3 separate regions of the Homo sapiens genome follow, and all the other regions are linked to region 2. The links are contacts of gene promoters, found by promoter capture Hi-C in blood cells and fetal thymus (Javierre and others, 2016). All regions are on one chromosome and are shown on one strand. The core of a region is centred on a gene start or on the middle of the fragment in contact, and the rest is flanking DNA. Distances in the headings are between cores, read along the strand shown. Region 1 has its middle 59 kb from the start of APCS. Region 2 holds the start of OR10J1 (olfactory receptor family 10 subfamily J member 1). Region 3 has its middle 43 kb from the start of ACKR1.

Region 1 (2,851 bases), core at 269-2,768, 210 kb after region 2:
ATTCATGCAGCCCATTTACCTGTCATTTCAGAGTGGCCCATTCATAAAGAGCCTAGAGCCTGAAAATATCTGAACATAGCATCTCATACAAATTCCTCACTGAAGATGAGATGCTTAATAATCAGAGCATCAGGAGAACTATTTTGTTGTTGATCCCAACTCTTTTTCTGGCCAGCACATTCACTGCTAAATGAACTAATAAATTAAAGGCCGTGATGGAGGATATACATGGACTTACTAGCATGGACTTCCACTCACCAAATCTGACTTGGTTACTTAATGCTAAACTCCTGACATGGAGAAAGAGAAAATGGCATTATTCTCTATCATGAATAGGGTAGCAGTTCGTCCTCAAGAATAGACATATTACGGGTTTAGATTTGTTTCCCTGCTCATCAAATATCTGTCAGCACCACCTTTGGTGGTTATACTAAATTTCTTATGCATCATTGTGGCATCCTACATAATAGTGCCTCTGACAGAGGAACACATTTCACAATGAAAGAGAGGAATAATCTGATGCCCATGGAGGGAAATGGCCAAATTATTTTCTAATTATTATGGACTTATAAAAGGCTTTTGCAATGAGATGTGTGTGTGTGTGTGTGTGTGTGTGTGTGTGTGTGTGTATGTGCCTGTGTGTATTTGTGGCTGCTGTAGAAATTTTTAAAGTTTTTTAATTTGTATATAAAATACGATAAATAAGTTTTAAAATTTGATCACTATATTATTAAATATGCAAAGATTCATTTTCACACTATCTTTAATAATTTATAATATAAAAAGACATTTTTACATTTAACAAGTGACATGCTACTTAATTTGCTTTAAGTTACATGTGTGTATCTGACTATATTATAAATAAATTCTTAAAATTGATATTATGCTTGATTTAGAACCCAAATGTAGGTCTTTGTAACACATTGTTAGATACAATCACGACAAATTTTCTATCTTAATACAGAGAACGCTTAATGTGCCACATAAGAGTTTTGATTAGCTGAATGCCACTTAAAGATTTGGTAAGATCATCTTGAGATGAATTTGCTGAATTATTGTCATTAACTTATACTTCAACATCAAGCTTCATTATGTTTCTTGTATTTATCAACAGTTCATTATGAGTATAAATTAAATAGCATGCAACTATGAATAAAATAATTTAAAACTGTTTAATGGTCAAAACTATTAAACAAGAGTTTCTGAGTACATTCATCTGATTGCCATCAGCCACAGATAATGTTCATTCTATATCTGCTCAAGAATGACAAACTGTCCCATTTCCAAAAGGCAAACTAGAAAATGTTAGTTTATTAGATACTTAGCCAAATTTCGTTACTATCTTTATCCACACAAACTTCCTTGAATACATCTATGAACCCTGGGAATTTGTGAGCCACCAGATAGGGAAGGCTGGTATACTCTACCACAAAAGTGGCATCTCATGATGCCAGCTCTGAGACACAGGCTAGGCTGCTGCCTTACAGCATGCCATTAAACTCTGACCAGTCTCACAGCCAACAACCAAGGCATGGAGGTGGGAGTGACACTTTTACCTGTTTATGCTTACCTTGACTAATTCTAAAAAGGGTTTGAGGCAGCTTGAAAAAAATTCGGGGAACATTAGTTCACAAATAAGCAAATAAGGCAATAAGGATAAAGGAAAAATAAGGGTAAATAATTAAGTGTTATAGAAATTGTAACACCTAAGGGAAGAAAACTTACACTGGAAAACACAACAAAGATTTTCCATATTTGGTACAGAGACAACCACAGGGCCACTAGAAGGAAGTTGCAGAATCTTGGCTTGTGTGATTGACTAACTCTCCACAGGAAATAGGGTTGCTATTCTGAAAAGGGAACTAAACATCTAGGGAGTCTTGGAGATCAAAGAAGAGGCTCTGACCATGTTCCCCTTTCTTTTTGCAAACACTCCTGTTTAAATTGGTGAGCCAAGCTTGGATATATTAAACTCCTACCACCAAAAACATATTAGAGCATATTAGGATCAAGTCATATATGCCTTAATGCTGCCACAACACCAAGCTGCCAGGAAAATTCTTTGTTCTATTATGCACAAATTTAAATATTAAGAGAAGACAATCCAAATTCTTAACAGGTAGTAACACTAGTTGCTCAGACCCTCAGGATTGAGGATCAACCCACCAAGAGAGAAAAATCACAATCCAATGATGTCATAAGACAAAGAGAACATAGAATTACCGAAGTTAGAAAAAAGTCAAAATTCAAGAAAGTCTTGTGACCAATAAAATAAATGAAGATTGTGGTTTCCTTTTATTTTTCCTTGCTTACTATTTGGATATAATTATCATCCCCTTTTCTTTATCTATCTAAAGAGGGATTATATTTTTTCTTCTTTTTCCTCCTCTTTCCACTGATCATTGCATATACAATGTGATTTTTGGGGGGATAACTTTATCCATAGGTGGCAGAATATTTTAGATGAATCACAAAAAACTAGAGAAATGATCATTCAAAGAGGTAGAATCGGGGAAACAGTGGCAGAGGACGTTGCCCTGAGATGCAGTAAATATGTATAACTTTGGGTTGTCGCCAAAAATGGGGCCCAGTGGTGACACCTCTCCTATCAACTGTGTTGCCTGATCACACCTGATGATATAGGGGCAGACATAGCACCCATGATGAAACAATCAAATTCTCTCTCCTATGAATCTGGAATTTTTACTGGAGAGCACAGAGACTGGCACAGAGACTGGCAGTTGAAGGCTCTGAGTCATATTCATGGCAAAGACCTAGTGAGCAGATCCACAGACTCAGTTACTAAGGATGCAAGAATCATCATGTCACCACCTTTCCTCACAGCAGTTCT
Region 2 (2,700 bases), core at 41-2,540:
TGCCAAGCATTTCTGATTTCACCATAGAGGCACCATACCACTCCGTGGCTGGACTACTACATAGTTTTTGCTCAGAAGCCTCACAGAAGACAAATGTCTTTAGACATATATTTTAGTATCAAATGATTTTCTTTATTGGAAAATATTCTCTATTGCAGCTTTACTTTCTTTTTAGCATTCTTAGTGTAAATGATTAACAGCTGGTCATCAACTTCTTTTAAATAGATTTTTATGAACTTGAAGAAAGTCTCCGTGCGTACTAACCTTCATCATTGATGTGATTTACTTTATGCAAAACTTCTCTTTCTGAATATGCATAAGCAAATCAGAATATAATTTAAATACCCTAGAGAAGCTTACTGTTTAAAGAGATAAAAATGTGAAATATTACATAAATTGAACTGATCCCCTTCCTTCAACAAAATGATGTATCTTTGGTGTAGCTGTTTTTTTATATTCAGGGTTTGCTTTTGCTTTAGGTGAGGGACACTTAAATTTGCTGTATCTTTCCTGATACAATTGTTTATCTCTGCAGAGTGGGTGTAGGCTTACTCACAAAGTTGTATTGGCTATAAATTTGCCTTCTAGTTTAGGGAAGGTAAAGATGTAGCATAGTTTATAACATACGTGAATCAGTGCTCTGAACTGTCAGCAGACTTCCATCACTCAGACAGAAGTGGGGAGAGGCTGGTGGTTGGCTAAGATTTTCCTTTTTCTTCTTGAAGACAAGATGAACCTTTCTACTTTGCTTCTAATTCTTAAAGGATGCGCAAGGAGGATGATTCATAGTCTTGAAAGAAAAGACATCACTAGTCCATCCCTAAACAAATTATTTTCAAGCACCCAATCCATGCATAATTTGGAGCTAGTGAAATATGAAAAGATGTAAAAGGTATTATAAAGTTGCTAAGTGTTTGTATGAGGTGAGGCAGCAATAATGGGGTAAAAATAATCCAAATAAACATGAGAACCTCTGAGTGTAATACGGTTTTATGAAGGCCTGAAAATGTGCACTCATCTCTGAAGAGTAGGAAAGAAATAAGAGGAGAAAAGAGAAGCCATTCCAGATGTCAGGGAGGAAGAGTAGATATGAAGTAGGAGCATGTATGGTTATACAGTGAAAAAGTGAGACTATATGATTCTATGATGCATGGAAAATTATAACAGATGGTCACAGAGTAAAAATATTTTAAGTAAAGATAAGTAAACCCAGGGATTAACTTAATCCACTAGGAAATACATCACCAGATTTGTAACTGAGAACTATTGAACTTCAATCAATTTCAGAAATGTGCTTCTACTGCTTTACTGGGACTATGTGACTTTTATGCTTTTATGTTTCAGATTTGGGAACCAATCCATGAAAAGAGAGAACTTTACTCTCATCACTGACTTTGTTTTCCAAGGTTTCTCTAGCTTCCATGAGCAGCAGATCACCCTTTTTGGCGTGTTCCTTGCACTATACATCTTAACCTTAGCAGGCAATATCATCATTGTGACCATCATCCGAATGGATCTTCATCTTCACACACCCATGTACTTCTTCCTGAGCATGCTGTCCACTTCAGAGACTGTATATACATTGGTCATTCTCCCAAGAATGCTCTCCAGCCTCGTAGGTATGAGCCAGCCCATATCATTGGCAGGGTGTGCCACACAGATGTTCTTTTTTGTAACCTTTGGCATCACTAACTGCTTCCTGCTCACAGCAATGGGATATGACCGCTATGTGGCCATCTGCAACCCCCTGAGATACATGGTTATTATGAACAAGAGGCTGCGTATCCAACTTGTCCTGGGGGCCTGCAGCATTGGGCTGATTGTAGCAATAACGCAAGTGACATCTGTATTCAGGTTACCCTTCTGTGCTAGAAAGGTGCCCCACTTCTTCTGTGACATCCGCCCTGTGATGAAGCTCTCCTGCATTGACACCACTGTCAATGAAATCCTGACTTTGATTATCAGTGTGCTGGTGCTTGTTGTACCTATGGGTCTGGTTTTCATTTCTTATGTTCTCATTATCTCTACAATCCTCAAGATTGCTTCAGTTGAGGGCCGGAAGAAGGCTTTTGCCACCTGTGCATCCCACCTCACTGTGGTCATTGTCCACTACAGCTGTGCCTCCATTGCCTACCTCAAGCCCAAGTCAGAGAACACCAGAGAACATGACCAGCTGATCTCGGTGACCTACACTGTCATCACTCCCCTACTGAACCCTGTGGTATACACCCTGAGAAATAAAGAGGTCAAAGATGCTCTGTGCAGGGCTGTTGGTGGGAAGTTTTCCTGACCATGTAGGAAGAGTTCTCCTGAGGCTGTCAACATCCACACTAGGCAGGAATATGAGGTGTAAACTCACAAACACTTGGCTCCTAGAGACCTGCCCCTTAAATAAGAGGCAAAAGAGGAATAGCAGTTTCATACAACTGGGAGTCTGAAGCTTTAAATAAAGTTACTGGATGGAGTGTTATCCCTATTTTTGGGGATAAATAGACAAACAAGGATAAGATATGCCTAAATAAAAGGCCAGAAAGTAGTATGGGCTGAGAATTTTTTACTGACCTTTTGGTTTCTTTGTGAATCTCCACCTAATGAAGGCAATAGAAAGCCCCTTGAGAAAATAGAATCCAAGACACACTTAAAATCTTTTTCCTATAATCCCTTTCTTCCTATACTAGAGCACCAGGGCTTCTGAAACTG
Region 3 (2,795 bases), core at 158-2,657, 190 kb before region 2:
AAGTGGTACTGTTGTTTGAGATCTGCAGCTGGATGGGGTTTCAGGCTTGGCTCTGAGGTTAGGCAGAGTAGCTGCTCAAATGGAGCATGCTTGAGTGTGGCAGAACTAGCCACTGCACTTTGCTGAAGTGTTCTGTTTGGTTGTCTCCATCCCTGGACAGGGTCTTGGGCAAGCTTTGAGGCTGTGCTAAATGCTGTATAAACTGGATCCCACTCTTTTCCAAATTGTGCTGGGACAAGCATCTCTCTCCCTGGGTTGAGGGCCTTGTGGTAGGGTCTGAGACTAAGCCTGGAGGCTCGCCATCTAGGGATTCAAGCTAGGTAGGACTTTCCATCACTTCTGGGAGTGACCAGCTCAGCTTTGTGGGTAGGTGATGCTGTTGGCTTGTATCTCTGATCAGGTACCACCACTGGAAGGTACACAGAGCTATCAGCAAGGTTTGTTCAGTGTTCATGCTGTTACCCGCTGTACTCCTTGTGAGGTGAGACCACAGCGGGCTTCCTGGGAAGCGTCTCAGAATTCTAGGGAAGCTGGATGTCCAACTCCAGTTCTCTTTTCCCACTGTTGAAACTGAGCCTTGGGGAATCCTCTCTGTGTGGTACTTTGCTGACTCATGGAATGGGCAGGGGTGATGGGGTGATGCAATCAGTGAGGCCATTTTACTTAACCCCTTTTGTGGTCTTTATTTAGTTCTGTTGTCCACACTGTTTTCTCAAGCTTATTCTCAAGTACTGGAGTTTTCACAAAGGCATCCTTGTCTGTGGATAATTGTTAGTTGAACTTTCTATGGGGGGTAGTGAAGCCTGTGACCTCTTATTCTGCTATCTTGCTGATGTCACCAGCTAAATCTTTATTAATTAATCAATGAATAAAATATATACAGAGTGAGACAAAGGGAAAAAATTAAGCAGAAAGTATGTAGTGAGGGGAGAAGCAAAGAGGGAAGAGTTGAGTTGCCCACATGGAAGACTTATAGAACTGCTATTAGTTTATCGCACCTACTTTGAAATGAGTACGTTTGTTGTTGTATTTTGAAGTAGTAATGAATAATGTGTCAGCCACTCGTGGGGTCCAAATGTTTGGCTGCTTTATCCTCTTCTTCCTTCTCACCTATTCTTAAAATAATAATCTATAAATTGAGGTGATCCAGACATACCTCTGTCCTGAAAACCTGATGAAGCCTCACTATCGTCCAAAAAAAAAAAAAATTGCAAAACTTGGACCACCCTAAGTATTTAATTTAATATTCCCCATTTGTCTAGTATACAGATATGATAGCACAACTAGGGATACGATGGTTGTATAAAATATTTTGCCTCCCATGAAAAGCTTATATTTAAAGAGACAGCCCATCTATCCAAAAACATTAGTCAACTATTACTAGATAGTATTTGGTTAAGTGAAAGTTGAGTGAAAAAAAAAACAACAAAAAATAGAATTTAGACCCAGACTGAAGTGAGCTCAGTGTGAGCTGAAGACTTCAAATAAAGCTTCAAAGAAGAAGTGATGTTAACAGAAACTCTGAAATTATTGTATTATTTGTATTGATTTGATATTTTTCCTTGGATTTTATTCTAAGAAAAAGCTAGCCTGTGCCAAATTGCAGAGTGCCTCACAAAGTCTGAATGTATGTACCTGCCAAATCTCATGTTGAATCATGATCCCCAGTGTTGGAGGTAGGGCCTGGAGGGAGGTGTTTGGATTGTGGGGGTGGATCCCTCATGAATGGCTTAGGCTATCCCCTTGGTGATAAGCGAGCTCTTGCTCTGAGTTCCCATGAGATCTGATCATTTAAAAGTGTGTGACATCTCCTCCCCCAGCTGACTCTCTCTCTTTTCCTCCTGCTTGTGCCATGTGGAGTGCCTGTTCCCACTTTACCTTCTGCCATAATTGTGCTTCCTGAGGCCTCCCCAGAAGCTGAGCAGATGCTAGCACCATGCTTCCTGTAAAGCCTATAGAACCAATTAAACCTCTTTTCTTTATAAATTACCCAGTCTCAGGTATTTCTTTATAGCAATGCAAGAAAAGCCTAATACAGCACCCTTTAAAAAGGTAGTAAAAAATCTGGTCTTCAAAAGTAGATTAGCTGGCTTTCAGTTCCAACATGCAAAAGCTTAGAAGTCATCAGTTCCATTCTATCAACAACAGCAACAACAAAGAAGATAAATAAACAAAATTAGCAGCTTTTCATGAATACCTCAGAAAACTGAGATTGCAGGGCAAATTGCCACCCCTAAATCTGGAAAAACAGGTGAATCCAGAGAACCACATGAAGACAGCTTACTGCTGGGGAAGCCCTGGAGCCATAAACTGGAACACTTAAACAACAATTTTGACAAATTTCAGAAGGCTAATGTGAGAATTATCCTGAGAATGAGAAACTCCTAGGTGCTGCAATCTTAGGGGCACCCACATACTTTTGTGAGTTTTATCTCCAGACACCACACAGTGTTCTTATGGTGAAGAGCGGTCAGAAAAAATTCATGGCTCAGGTAGAAGGAGGGAAAGAATAACTTGTAGAATACAACCTGACTGTTCTTCATAGCAAAGACTTACTCTCCAGGGGTAAAGATTTATCAGAGCCTTATCCCACCTAGGGGAAAATAATTTCTCTCACTCTAGCCCTCTCTAGCATTCCTATTTCACCTGAGTGAGGAGAGAGGACAAGACACCCTTGTGAAGGTCACATTCCAGGAACACAGGCCCACTAAAAGAGTGAGACTTAATAATAAGATTACAGAATGCTCCTCACTCCCACACCTTACTGTCAGATCAAAAGGACTCTGGTATAAGGG

Evidence for each region. The method cuts DNA at HindIII sites, captures the fragments that hold promoters and counts their contacts. A CHiCAGO score of 5 or more calls a contact.
Region 1: a contact is called between a fragment that was not itself captured here and the fragment with the promoter of OR10J1 in region 2, in 5 of 17 cell types (M2 macrophages, endothelial precursors, naive B cells and 2 more). The highest score is 7.3, in M2 macrophages.
Region 3: a fragment that was not itself captured here is called in contact with the fragment with the promoter of OR10J1 in region 2 in 1 of 17 cell types (megakaryocytes); the score reaches 5.1 in megakaryocytes.

The regions. Positions count from the first base shown.
Region 1 is chr1:159,645,065-159,647,915 of GRCh38, forward strand. No RefSeq gene overlaps it. Among named protein-coding and RNA genes, the nearest start is that of APCS, 59 kb to the left of the region's middle. The HindIII fragment of the contact is 873 bases long and covers 1,083-1,955 here.
Region 2 is chr1:159,438,432-159,441,131 of GRCh38, forward strand. It overlaps OR10J1 (olfactory receptor family 10 subfamily J member 1), which reads left to right and starts at 1,291. Exons shown (of 1, transcript NM_012351.3): 1 at 1,291-2,536. The coding sequence starts at 1,361. The coding sequence ends at 2,290. The HindIII fragment of the contact is 2,085 bases long and covers 354-2,438 here.
Region 3 is chr1:159,246,843-159,249,637 of GRCh38, forward strand. No RefSeq gene overlaps it. Among named protein-coding and RNA genes, the nearest start is that of ACKR1, 43 kb to the left of the region's middle. The HindIII fragment of the contact is 161 bases long and covers 1,328-1,488 here.